3 separate regions of the Homo sapiens genome follow, and all the other regions are linked to region 2. The links are contacts of gene promoters, found by promoter capture Hi-C in blood cells and fetal thymus (Javierre and others, 2016). All regions are on one chromosome and are shown on one strand. Each heading gives the region's core, a stretch centred on a gene start or on the middle of the fragment in contact. The rest is flanking DNA. Distances are from core to core; before and after follow the strand shown. Region 1 overlaps TMEM132B (transmembrane protein 132B). Region 2 holds the start of TMEM132B (transmembrane protein 132B). Region 3 overlaps TMEM132B (transmembrane protein 132B).

The links. The method cuts DNA at HindIII sites, captures the fragments that hold promoters and counts their contacts. A CHiCAGO score of 5 or more calls a contact.
Region 1: a fragment that was not itself captured here is called in contact with the fragment with the promoter of TMEM132B in region 2 in 7 of 17 cell types (M0 macrophages, M1 macrophages, monocytes and 4 more); the score reaches 16.6 in M0 macrophages.
Region 3: a contact is called between a fragment that was not itself captured here and the fragment with the promoter of TMEM132B in region 2, in 1 of 17 cell types (monocytes). The highest score is 5.0, in monocytes.

The regions. Positions count from the first base shown.
Region 1 is chr12:125,407,782-125,412,324 of GRCh38, reverse strand. The region is part of intron 2 of TMEM132B (transmembrane protein 132B); the gene reads right to left. Among named protein-coding and RNA genes, the nearest start is that of TMEM132B, 220 kb to the right of the region's middle. RefSeq lists a silencer at 3,498-3,686. The HindIII fragment of the contact is 5,834 bases long and covers 1-4,543 here.
Region 2 is chr12:125,183,437-125,187,794 of GRCh38, reverse strand. It overlaps TMEM132B (transmembrane protein 132B), which reads right to left and starts at 1,409. Exons shown (of 9, transcript NM_001366854.1): 1 at 929-1,409. The coding sequence starts at 995. RefSeq lists a silencer at 1,417-1,626 and an enhancer at 1,675-2,208. The HindIII fragment of the contact is 2,339 bases long and covers 97-2,435 here.
Region 3 is chr12:125,335,572-125,340,105 of GRCh38, reverse strand. The region is part of intron 1 of TMEM132B (transmembrane protein 132B); the gene reads right to left. Among named protein-coding and RNA genes, the nearest start is that of TMEM132B, 150 kb to the right of the region's middle. The HindIII fragment of the contact is 7,254 bases long and covers 1-4,534 here.

The DNA of each region.
Region 1 (4,543 bases), core at 1,113-3,612, 220 kb before region 2:
TCAGTCTTAGAGATACAACACGTACCCACGGAGGGTTCTTCTGTGAGATTTTTGTTCCTTCTTTTATTCTGACCCAAAACTAAGACACAGGTCCCCTCGTCCTCAGGGGCTTCCTCATTCATCAGCTCTGAATTGATTCATGGGACTCCGTGCACGATGCTTCTTCCACTGGGGCTTCTAGCCTCTGGTTTATCCCGACAGAGACTCTCACAGTGGGCAAACGCTTCCTCAGAGTCTGAGAAGCAGAGGGTCCAGTGCGGGGAGACAGTCCAAATCTTCCATAGAGCATTTCCTAGCACGGGGGGTGCCGTGGCAGGGGCTGAGGAAACACAGTGCTTGCTGGTCCTAAACAGGTCCAGGGGACCCAAGGAAGGCAGGGAGGCAGGACTTGAGACAAGTTGACCATTAGCCAACAAATGTCAACATTTTGAAATATTTTGTCAACCAGCACAGCCTTCCCAGCACCTGCAGGCTGCACATCAGGACCATCGGACTGCTTCCCCTTAGTGAAGTTATTACATTTGAAGACAAGCAGAGGAAAGACCAAGGTGGCCCCTCCGGGTTGCCGTCTGGGTGGGATGATCGGCCCCATGACACCACAAACGCATTTCTAGCTAATTGCTGCTAAGCTCTCAAGACAGCAACCAACCCTTTACCTTCCCCCGGTCAACTGGAGCCCAGATGACAGCCCATCCTAGCAGCCATCCATTTACTTTCCTTCCCAGAGGCAGGGAACCCCTCACACGTACCCTAGAGGTTTGGCCAACTGGGCATCTCCGGTTTTTATTTTTGTTTGTTTGTTTTTATTATTATTATACTTTAAGTTCTGGGGTACATGTGCTGAACGTGCAGGTTTGTTACATAGGTATACCCATGCCATGGTGGTTTGCTGCACCCATCAACCTGTCATCTACATTAGGTATTTCTCCTAATGCTCTCCCTCCCCTAGGCCCCCCCCCACCCTCTGACAGGCCCCAGTGTGTGATGTTCCCCTCCCTATGCCCATGTATTCACATTGTTCATCTCCCACTTACGAGTGAGAACACGCGGTGTTTGGTTTTCTGTTCTTGTGTGGGCATCTCTACTTTGTCCCCTGTCTCAGTTTCACTCCCTGACCACTCCACTCCACTCCACTCCTCCACTCACTCCACTCCACTCCACTCCACTCCTCCACTCCACTCACTCCACTCCACTCACTCCACTCCACTCCACTCCACTCACTCCACTCCACTCCTCCACTCCACTCCACTCACTCCACTCACTCCACTCCACTCCACTCCACTCCACTCACTCCACTCCACTCACTCCACTCCACTCACTCCACTCCACTCCACTCACTCCACTCCACTCACTCCACTCCACTCCACTCCACTCCACTCCTCCACTCCACTCACTCCACTCCACTCCACTCACTCCACTCCACTCACTCACTCCACTCCACTCCACTCACTCCACTCCACTCCACTCCTCCACTCCACTCCACTCCACTCACTCCACTCCACTCCACTCACTCCACTCCACTCACTCCACTCCACTCCACTCACTCCACTCCACTCACTCCTCCACTCCACTCACTCCACTCCACTCCACTCCACTCACTCACTCCACTCCACTCCACTCCACTCCACTCCACTCACTCCACTCCACTCCTCCACTCCACTCCACTCACTCCACTCCACTCCACTCACTCCACTCCACTCCACTCACTCCACTCCACTCACTCCACTCCACTCACTCCACTCCACTCCACTCCTCCACTCCACTCCACTCCACTCACTCCACTCCACTCCTCCACTCCACTCCACTCCACTCACTCCACTCCACTCCACTCCTCCACTCCACTCACTCCACTCACTCCACTCCACTCCACTCCACTCCACTCACTCCACTCCTCCACTCCACTCCACTCACTCCACTCCACTCACTCCACTCCACTCCACTCACTCCACTCCACTCCACTCCACTCACTCCACTCCACTCCACTCACTCCACTCCACTCCACTCCACTCACTCCACTCCACTCCACTCCACTCACTCCACTCCACTCCTCCACTCCACTCCACTCCACTCACTCCACTCCACTCCACTCCTCCACTCCACTCCACTCCACTCCTCCACTCCACTCCACTCCACTCCTCCACTCCACTCCACTCCTCCACTCCACTCCACTCCTCCACTCCACTCCACTCCACTCCTCCACTCCACTCCACTCCTCCACTCCACTCCACTCCACTCCACTCCACTCCTCCACTCCACTCACTCCACTCCACTCCACTCACTCCACTCCACTCCACTCCTCCACTCCACTCCACTCCTCCACTCCACTCCACTCCACTCCTCCACTCCACTCCACTCCACTCCTCCACTCCACTCCACTCCACTCCTCCACTCCACTCCACTCACTCACTCCACTCCACTCCACTCCACTCACTCCACTCCACTCCACTCACTCCACTCCACTCCACTCCTCCACTCCACTCCTCCACTCCACTCCACTCCACTCCTCCACTCCACTCCACTCCACTCCTCCACTCCACTCCACTCCTCCACTCCACTCACTCACTCCACTCCACTCACTCCACTCCACTCCACTCCACTCACTCCACTCCACTCACTCCACTCCACTCCACTCCTCCACTCCACTCCACTCCACTCCACTCACTCCACTCCACTCCACTCCACTCCTCCACTCCACTCCACTCCTCCACTCCACTCCACTCCACTCCTCCACTCCACTCCACTCCACTCCACTCACTCCACTCCACTGTCCACAGCCAAGCACCCCACTTGGCACTGAGGCTTGGGACACAATTATTTTTCTCGCTCGCCTCAGTCTTCCCACCCCTCTTAGGAGTGTTGCCCCCCCTCAATCAGCTCCTGTGCACACCACAAGCACTGCCGCCGGATGCCTCCTCACGGGACAGGGCTCCTCGGGTTCCAGTAGCCTCCAGGATCACAGTGAAGCCACACCCAAGAGGGTCCCTTGCTGCATTTGCAATTTGGAAAATAAGGGGATCCATAAATTCCAGTGTGGTTGATTTCCAGGACACGAGGAAGTCTCCAGAAACCAGATGCCTATCTCAGTCCCTCTTCCCTTGTGGCTGGCTCAGCAGGCATTCTAGGGCCCAGCAACTCTCCAAAGAGTGGACTTTCAAGCTGCAAAAGTGCCCTCAAAACTGCAGTAAAGGCAGCAGGCTTCTACACAAACTGAGGAGAGTACCTGTGAGCACATAAGTCCCAAAGTAATTCTCTCCATAACAGTTGAAGCCAAGACAGGGTTGATGCACTCCAGGACTGTCTTTGTCTTGACTTTTCAATTATTATTATTATTAGTTATCATTATCACTATTATTATTAACAATCCACTCTGGTGTATCCCCTTGTGCAGTACAAAAGTCAAAACACTTACTCAGCAGAATGGCTAAACTGAAAAGAGAGAAAAAAGCAAATGGTGGCCTGGTCATGGAGTGACTGGGACTCGTGAACATTGCTGGAATGAGTGTAATTTGGTTCAACCTCTTTGGAAAGCTATTTGGTGATAACTACAAAGCCTGAATTTCCGTAGACCCTGTAACAGCATTGCCACTCCTCGGTTTATGCCCAACAGAAACACATGCACCTGTTCCCCAAGACACACATACAAGAAGGTGCACGACAGCCCTGCCATCAGCCCAAAATGGAAACAACCCAAAATGCTCATTGCCTTAATCTGTTCGGGACAGTCTAACAAAATACCACAAACTTGGAGGCTTATAAACAACAGAAATTTATTTCTCACAGTTCTGGAGGCTGAAGTCCAAGAGCAAGATGTCAGCAGTTTCAGTGCCGGGTGAGAGCTTGCTTTTTTATAGATGCGGCTGTCATGCTGTGTCCTCGCATGGTGGAAGGGGTGACAGAGCACCCTCAAACCTCTTTTATAAGGGCATTAATCCCATTCCTTTAGGGAGATGACCTAATCTCCCAAAAGGCCCCACCTCCTAATAACTCTGCCTTGGGGATAAGAATTTCAACATGCGAATTTGTGGGGGATACAGACGTTCAGACCCTAGCACCCATTGACAACGGAACTGGTAAAGCGTAACATCTCACAGTGGAACACTATACAGCAGTAACGAGGAAGCAGCCTATCACCACACAACAACACAGCGACCCTCCAAATACACAGCTGAGTGGAAGAAGCCAGGTACCAAAAGCGCGCACTGTGCAATTCCGTTCGTGGAAAGTCAGAAGCAGGCACACAGATCTCCGAGGTGAAAGCCTGCACAGTGGCCGCCCTGTGGTAGAGGCAGTCACTGAGTGGAGTCCTGCTGGGCTTCTGGGGACCCTGCCATGCTCTGTCTCTCCTTCTGCATGCCGATTACTTGGTGGTTGTGAGAACTCATCAGTCTGTGCTCGCTTATGTGGACTCTTCTGCATGTAGGTTACAGTTCAATATGAAGTTCAAAACAGAGCAAGTGCATTGTAACAGGGACGTAAGTCAGAGCCAGGAGGACATGGTGGCTCCACCACTGCCCACGTTCACTGGTAGGTCTCCAGGTGAACC
Region 2 (4,358 bases), core at 160-2,659:
CTGCTTGCATGGGGTGGGGGGAGGGGAGGAATTGTCATTTTAGGATACGCTTTCTATAGAACCAACATGTAGCCACACCAAGGTGGGTAGAAAGCTTTCCAAACTCCAGCGAAGACAGACAATACCTGACTATTTTGCTTTTCCCACTCACTAGGATTGGGCGACAGCTGAGCTGGTTCAGCAGGGAGTCCAGCTCCCCGGTGCCCAGGCAATGGCTCTGGACAGCACCGCGTTCCAGGCTCCCCGGCGCGTCCTGGACTGCTTGGCCGCGGCTACCCTCTCCCGCCCGCCTTGGGGTCAGGGCGCTGGAGTAGACCGCGTTTGCAGGAGGCGCGCAGCGGGCTGCTCTTTGGCCAAGAGGAGGCCATTTGGCGAGGGTGGGTAGCTTGGGGAGGGCAGTGTGAAAGCAGGGGAGGGCCGCGGGGCGTGGGGAGGGGCTGCGGACAAGCCAGACAGCGCCGGCCGAGACATCTCCGGGGCCCGCAGGTGTCCCGGGAACGCACCACTGTGCGACCGCGGGCAGCAAGACACTGGAGAAGGGCTGCGTCGACGCCCCCGCCCAGCAAAACCCCTGGAGGAACTGGGACCTGGGGGGGATTTGGCCCAAGGCAGGGCGGGGAGGGGGCTCGATTCCTGCAGTCGCGTCCCCACCCGCCTCGAGAGGCTGAGTGCCCCGGTCTGTGGCCCCCGTGCGTCCCGAAAGGATCCGCAAGGAAGCTAAGGGTTTGGGGGAGAAGGCAGGCGGGCTCTCCCCAGGCGCTAGGCAAAGGGGAACGCGCCGGGGGCTCCTGGGTTCCCAGGGTCTCCCCAGGTCTGTCCAAGTCCGGGAGATGCGCGCTGCCAGGGACTTGAGAAGGAGGTAGCCGCCCGTTCACCCAACTTTGTGCGCCTCGGCCGGGGTCGGGGATGGGGTCCGGGGACGCGTTACCTGGGCACTGGAGCGCAGTCAGCGCCAGCAGGAGCCCGAGCGGCGGCGCCCGGCCCGGGGGCGGCATGGTCCTCGGCGCGCGGTGGGTGCGGCGCGGGGCTGCTCCTCTCGCGCGCCCGGCCCGGCCCGCGGCTCCCGGAGCAGCCCCCGGCGGCTACGCCCGGGCGCCGGGCATGGCTCGCTCCCAGCGCGCCGCTCCTCCCCAGACGCATGCGCCGGCGCTGGCGGCGCTTCCTCGGCTGCGCCTCTGCGCGCTCTCCTGGGCTCGGCCGTGCGTGGCTGGGGAGCTGGGGCGGCCGAGGCTCAGCGCCCCGCGCCCTGGCCGGCTGCCCCGCAGTTGGCCCGAGTTGCGCGGCCCCCGCCGCCGCCGCCGCCGCGGCTCCTGCGCCCCAGCGCCCGTCCCATCCCGGTCGCGCCGCCGCCGCCGCCGCCGCCTCTGCCATCGCCATCTGCCGGCCGCCCCTCGAGCCAGCGAGAGAGTGAGCGAGCGAGCGAGCGCCGGGGGGAGGAGGAGGAGGAGGAGGAGTAGGAGGAGGAGGAGGAGGAGAGGAGCGGAGGGCGGGGCCGCGGCCGGGGGAGGGGCCGCCCGGGAGCCGGGGCACAGGCGGCAGCCCGGCCAGTAGGCGGCGGGACGCGCCACTGCTCGGCGGTTCGGGGGAGGGCGCCCGGCCGGGAGGCTCCGGGAGCCCGCCGGGGGTCGCGGGCGCTCGCGGGTACAGGGGCTGCGGGAGGGGTGCGCAATGCAGAGAGGGGATGCCCAGCTAGATCCGGCGTCTTGGGGCGCAGCGGTAGGAGTTGCCAAGGTCGAGGGGTGAGGAGGCCAGCGGAGGGTCACCGGGATGGGGCAGCGACCTCTGGAGAGGTGGTGTCTGCCGGGGCCAGAGACTGCAAGACTGAGCGCGGACAGGAGGTCCCGGGTTAAATGTGGCACAGCTAGGGAGTGCCTGTGGGAGAGGGGAGAGGAGAGAGGGGAGGGCCTCCGGGAGGCCGAGGCTGTGTGCAGAGCCTCTGCACGGCACCGGGATGGGGGCTAGGGGTGCGCAGGCTGGGTGCGGTGACCTGAAACACAGCGAAGGCGGCCTGGGGATGGCCACCCGGGTGAGGCAGGGTCCCTTATTTACCCAGGCTAGAGGATGCGCCTTCCCATTTCGCGCAGGCCCTAGGAGCACGCGGAGGCAGCCAGGAGTTCTCCTGGGAAGGGCAGATTCCCTGGCGGTCCCGGGAATGAGTTCCCAGCGCAGGGTCAGGCAGTGACGGAGCGGAGGTGTTGCGCAGGGCCGGGTACTAGGTGGTCGAATTCTTCCATCCAGGGGCAGGGACGCAGCCAGAGTGCGGAGGGAGGTCACAGGTCACACGGAGCCCCAGTACCTATTATCCCAGAAACCACTGATCCTCCTGGGCGCCCCACCCCCAACCAGGGCAAAGCCACGGGGGGCTAAGCCGAATGAATGAGTCATGCTGGGAGCATGTGGGGGAGCCTCCAGCAGCGCTCAGATGCCTTCAAGCTTCCCCACCACGCTGGGAGGACAGGGGATATGGGGGGTTGCCCACCTGGGAGGGTGGCTTGGAGTCCTGGCTCCGCCCCAGCCCCCACCACACCAGCCACTTGCTCTGCCATCTCAGTTTTCCATGAAAAAGTGGGTCAAACTCTTTGAAAATGGTCAATAAGGCAGCGTGGGGTGATGAAAAGACAGATTTGGGGAAGGCTCTGGAGTCATGGAGTCTTGGCTGAGAATCCCAGCTCTGCCGCTCCTTAGCTGTGCAAGCTGGGGCGAGTCCCTTATTCCTCCCTGAGCCTCAGTTTTCTCATCTGAGAGATGGAAGGCATTGCACATCACCTGGTGTCCCCAATAACACATACAAAGCCCCTGACCTAGGAAGTCGGAACTCATTTAAAGGAGTCAGTGTCAACATTATCATTCTCATCATCATGGCCATTATTATGATAGATCTGATTTTCCTCTGCGGGCCCAGAGCTCACATCAGAAGGACAATCCTCCCCACTCCCGGCTGCCAAGAGGGGATGGGGGACAGGGCACCTGCTTGATTAGTACAGACAAGCTCATTAGCAGAGGCAGCACTCAGTTCTTCCTAGATAAAAGAAGGAAGAAAGCCAGGGGCAGGTGGTGAGTCTCCAGCCCAGGTTAATTAGGAGACGTAAAGGGATTTTCCCGTGGCTGTTAATCGGCTTCCTTTACAAGGGGCCCATGCCCAGGCCAAGCCCCCTTTGGGCTCCCTGGCAAGGCCTGCAATGTGTGGAGAGCCATACAACAGGCTGGACGACGGGATTGGGGGTCTCCTCGGGCTTAGGGTGGCCTTGCGAGGGGCCCATCTGTCCCCTTTCTGTGACCCTTTCCCCAGATAAGAGGATGATCCTGGAGACGTGGTCAGGACTCTCTTAGGGTCCTCTGTGCCCGGCTGCCCCCAACACCTCTTTCCTGTTCACTTGTTCATAAGCATCTGCAGAGCTGAGCACCTACTGTGTGCCGGCCTCTGCAGGGGATGGTGAAGCAGAAATGAATGGACGACAGCAGGGGAGAGCCACAGCAGGAGTGACCGCGGGGTGCTGGTGCCAAGGTGAACCGTGTGTTTGACCAGGAAGCAGGTCAGTGAGGCTGGGAGACTGTGGCCAAAGATAAAAGTCATTTTCTGGCAGGGTAAGGGGTCATTCTGTGGCTTTAGTGGCGGTGCTTGGAGAGGGTTGTGAATCAGTCCAGCAAGTCCCCAAGCCAGTGGTCACACAGTCCCAGGTGTGATGGCAGATGGCAGTTGCCTTCCCCCCAACCCCACACTCAGGACTACCTGGTCATACTCCAAGAAAGCACCTTTCAGTGGGGAAGGGCACTTCCCCATTAAAATATGCTGATGGTGGTTGAGCCAGACGCTGAAGAGAGGAATCTCCTTTTGAGGGTAGCTTTTCCATGCCCCAGCTGTGTGACTCTGGACAAGCCCCTAATCCTCTCTGAGCTCATACGTGGGGTAGGGATGAGAATTCCAGCCTGGCTCAGCCTGTCTTGTGGTTGGATGAGGATTTCTGCATATTAACCATGCCCCTAAGCCTGTATCTCTAAAGGGGGTGTTTCTGGAGGAAATAAGCAGGGGAAAAAAGCCTCCCTGGATTCTGAAGGGCGGGGGGGAATCTGAGAGGCTGGCGGCAGTAACGAGGAGACCCCAGGGCTGAGCGGAATTCTCCTCTCACTCCTACCTAGACTCTCGCCCCCAGCCTGCTGGCCTCATAGCCTGGGCAGGACCGTAAGAATTACACAGCCTACAATCTCCCCCTAAGTATAGATGGGATACTGAGTCCAGGAATTGTCCTTCTCCTGGATCTGTAAGTGTGGGGAGGCCGACTCGACTAACAGCCAGCCTCGAGCCCCAGCATAGCCATGCAAGGCTTCCTCAGGCCGCACCACCCCCTGCACAGCAAGAG
Region 3 (4,534 bases), core at 1,500-3,999, 150 kb before region 2:
TAATTTCTCTCTCTGCCAATGATTTCTAATGCTTCCTGATTATGTTGTTAAGACCTGAAACATCCTCAAGTCTACTTGTGATTTACTTATTTAACTTCTTTGCTGTGTGACTACACTCATATGAATACATTGTAGCTGAAATTAATGTGGATTTACAATACAGTTTATTATGTAGGAGTGTTATGGACTGAAGTGTACCTCCTCCCAAATTCATACGTTCAAGTCCTAACCCTTGGCACCTCAGAATGTGACTGTATTTTGGGACAGGGTCTTTCAAGAGGCAATATAGCTAAAATAAGGCCATTGGGGGGTGCAAATATTTTTATCCCACGCTGTAGCTAGCTCCTCTGTCTTCTTGCACTGCGTTCTCAGCGTGTAACTTTGCTCCTCCTGGCTACACAGTGGCTGCTCTATCTCCATCCCTCTCAGGACACACCACCAACACCCACACTTGGATGCCTGACATTTCTCTGGAAGGTTAATTGTCCTTAGAGAGCAGTTGCCTTTTTGAAGAGCTACTGGGGAGAAGTACCAAGCATTCTGCCTTTTACTGAGGATGGGGGCATTGGAAGGAGGTCTGCCTGGAGTGGGTGTTCCATCGTCAGAATTTAGTTACTCCTCTTGCTTGCAGCCCTTTTCATGCTGTCCTTGCTCTATTTGCCAACATGTGGTCAAGAGCCCCCAGTTCAATTGGACTGGCGTCCTCATAAGATGAGGAAATTAGAACGGACACACACAGGGAAGACCATGTGGTGGCATAGAAGGCAGGCGGCCATCTACAAGCCAAGAGAGGCCTCAGAAGAAAACAAACCTGCTGGCACCTTGGTCTTGGACTTCCAGCCTCCAGAATTGTGAGAAAATAAATTTCTGCTGTTTAAGTGGCCCAATATGTGGTACTTTGTTATGGCAGCCCTAGCAAATTCATACAGAGGCATTATTGTTCTTTATCAAAATCCTATTAGCTAGACTTCCCTGCTTTCCACCTTCCAAGTTAACTTTAGAATCATATGGTCAAGTTGCCCATGTCAAAACTCAAATGGACTGTTAGCTGGAGGTGAGGATCTACACATTGAGAGTGTGGATGCCTTTCAACTTCCTGCCATATTTTTCTACGTATTTTCAAGTTTTCTAGAATGAACATGTGCTGCTTATTCAATCTAAGAGAAATATTGACATTCTTCCTTCAAAAAGAAGGATACGGAATTTACTTTTAAGTAGCAGACTGAGCACACTTATTCCCTCCATCTCCACAGAAACCCAAATGAAATAAAAGCATGAAAGTACAAAAAGGAAAAAACCTATTATCAAGAGAAATGGAGGGAGGATATCTGCAAATAAAATACTTCAACAAATTTAAGAAAGAGAATAAGCGGATAAAAGTGTGCTGATGGGCAGGACAGCAGAGGAAACCTCAGACCAGAACATTCTACATGTGCTGCCAAGGATCAAGGGGCTACTCTGCCCACTGGAGCCCAGAGGGGCTCCTGGCTACCTGCTGGCATGTACAGTAAGGACAGGTGTGAAATTAGAGCCGCAAAAAAGGAGAGTAACAGATTCTGAAGATGAGACACCCACTCCAGGCAGACCTCCTTCCAGTGCCCCCATCCTCAGGAAAAACCAGAATGCTTCATACTTCTCCCCAGTAGCTCTTCAAAAGGCAACTCCTCGACACTGAGTTAACCCTCCAGAGAAATGTCAGGCATCCAAGTGTGGGTGTTGGTGCTGCGTCCTGAGAGGGATGGTGACAGAGCAGCCACTGTGCAACCAGGAGGAACAAAGGTACACGCTGAGGACACAATGTGAGAAGACAAGAGAGCTGGTCACAGCATGGGATCAAAGAAAAAATAAGATCAAATCCTACTCGCCTAAGCCACTGTGGCCAGGGCTTCTGTTACTTGCAGCCAAACACAATCCTAAATAATAAGAAAAGAGAAGTACATGGCAGAGTGCCTGGCCCAAAGTAAGTAGGAAATAAATGTGTGTTGAAAGAATAAATGAATAAATGGAATAAAGTTGATATTTTTAATGCAAATAAGTAAAAACAATTAAAATGTGAAAAAGGGAAGAAGGTGTGTACATTAGCTAAATCCTCATCTTTTATAGAGAGAGCGCTGCTGTCTACATTTATTAACTCAAGAAGTCAAGGTAGATGAATAATTATAGAAGTCATCACCAGAAGAACTAAAACCAGAAATGGCTAGAAGTGGCGGACTTTGGGGAAGGAGATCAAGGATATAGAGGAATGGAAGACTATGGCCATTCTTTCAAAGTTATTCTGTACCATTTTAATTTCGCCATCTGCATGTATGACTTTGAGGATGAGAAGCCTTTGTGTGCAGGAGCCCAAACCTAGCCAAACAGGGGAAAATAGCATAGAACAGAATACCGGAAATTTGAGTATATGGATGAGGGGAGAACACCCTTAATCTAGATAACAAGACATTATTGGGCCTGTGGGTGAGATGGCCACCTGTCAAGGAGAGGAAAATCAAAAACTTCCTCGTCGACCGTATTGCATATGGCTGCTCAGGCAGGGACTTTCCCAGCCTCTCCTGTATCCACGTATGGCCACAAGACTTCTTCTTGAAAGAGAAGCAGGAGTGTCACATATCACATTAAAGCCAAAACAGGTAACTTTTACCTTCCACCAGTGAGAAGCAGGAAACACTGAAGCCCTAGGGCATGACAAAGCCATCACCTGGAAGGAGCCCCGGCCCTGGAACCTCCACGCGAGGAAAGCTGCCTGCCAAATGTGAACACCCACACTAGATGTGAGCAGGAAGCAATCTTTTATTGTGTTAAGCCACGCCTAGGAGTTTATTTGTCACAGCAGCTAGTGACAACCAAATAAACCAACATGGTATAGGCTTACGATTTGGACAGCAGTGGTCCCATCCCTACTAAAAAGTGGAAACAAATGGCATAGCACTTCCTTATGTAAACTGTGTTTTTGTGAGCAAGGAGGAGATAAAGACACTCAGAGAAACAAAAGTGAAGAGCTGTTCAGCCAACATGAGAGATTTCCATGCCATGCCAGATGCAGGGGGAGCATTATTAAATGGATTATATAGATTGCTTAGTGACAGTAATTTTGACCTCCTATAGGTACCACCAGCTGTTAAACAGTAGGAAATTTTGATGACCTTGTTATAATTTCCATTTATATTTATTCTAAATTGGACACCTTGGAGACTGTTTAAATAAGAGAGGAAAATTCACTGAGTAATCTTGACAGCTCTGCCACTGTGTGATTGGGAAGCAGCTGAGGCTTACAAAAGGCAGACAGACACCTGGGCTGGAGCCCCGGGTCTGCCATCAGTTGGATTTATGTACCAAGGCAAGTCACTTCATCCTCCCATTCGATTTCCCTCTGTGTCAAATGGGGTGTCACCTGCTGCCAGGTGCATCAGGGACACACCATGAGGTAACCCAGTGGCGTGACTTGTTATCGTGCAACTGCATGTATAGGAATGTCACAGGTGGTGCCTCTGCGGACTTCTCACTGATTCAGACTTGTTTCTCCTTCATCTGTTCATTACTGAAATCGAAAATGATTCTTTCATTTCCCAGAATGAAATGAAAGAATGCAAACCATGTAAGTCTAAACAAAATTGGAATTTAAGGTCAGTCATAGCTGGCATAGGCTGGCTTCAGGTCTGGCTGGATCCAGCAGTGAAGCAGTGTCATCACTGTGCATCTTCACAAATGTCATTTGAGGGAATGGTTAAAGAAGCCTCGGTACCTGTGTTGGGTGGAACACTACTCGGCAGTAAAGAGGAGCAAATGATGGACAGGCAGCATCATGGATAAGTCCCAAATACATCATGCTGAGTGAAAGAAGGCAACCTCAGAAAGCCACATGCTGTCCAAGTGCACTTACATAACACTCTAGAAAAATTGAACCAGAGGGATGAAGAACACATCGGTGACTGCCGGACAGAAGGGGCTGGAAAGAGTTTGACTACAAAAATTTTAAACAAGGGAATTGGAAGAGGGGTGATGGAGCTCTTCTGTGTCCTGACCGTGCCGATGCTTACACAACTCCATGCATTTGCCAAAAACTTAACAGCGCTCCATACCAAAAAGGGTGAAATGTACTGAAAATAATTTTTTTCCTTTGAGGGGGAGTCTTGCTCTGTCGCCCAGGCTGGAGTGCAGTGGCGCAATCTTGGCTCACTGCCACCTCCCCCTCCCAGATTCAAGCGATTCTCCTTCCTCAGCCTCCCAAGTAGCTGGGATTACAGGCATCTGCCACCACACCTGGCTAATGTTTGTATTTTTAGTAGAGACAGGGTTTTGCCATGTTAGCCAGGCTGGTCCTGAACTCCTGATCTCAAGTGATCCTCTCACCTCAGCTGCCCAAAGTGCTGGGATTACAGGCATGAGCCACCATGCCTGGCCAAAAATAAATTTTAAAGTAATTTTTTAAGATGCATTTTCCCCCATCACCCTGCTCTGTCTTCTACAAAGCTGACTTTATTCTCCATGTCACGGTGAGATCAGCATTTTCAAGTTTCACATTCTCCTTCTAAAA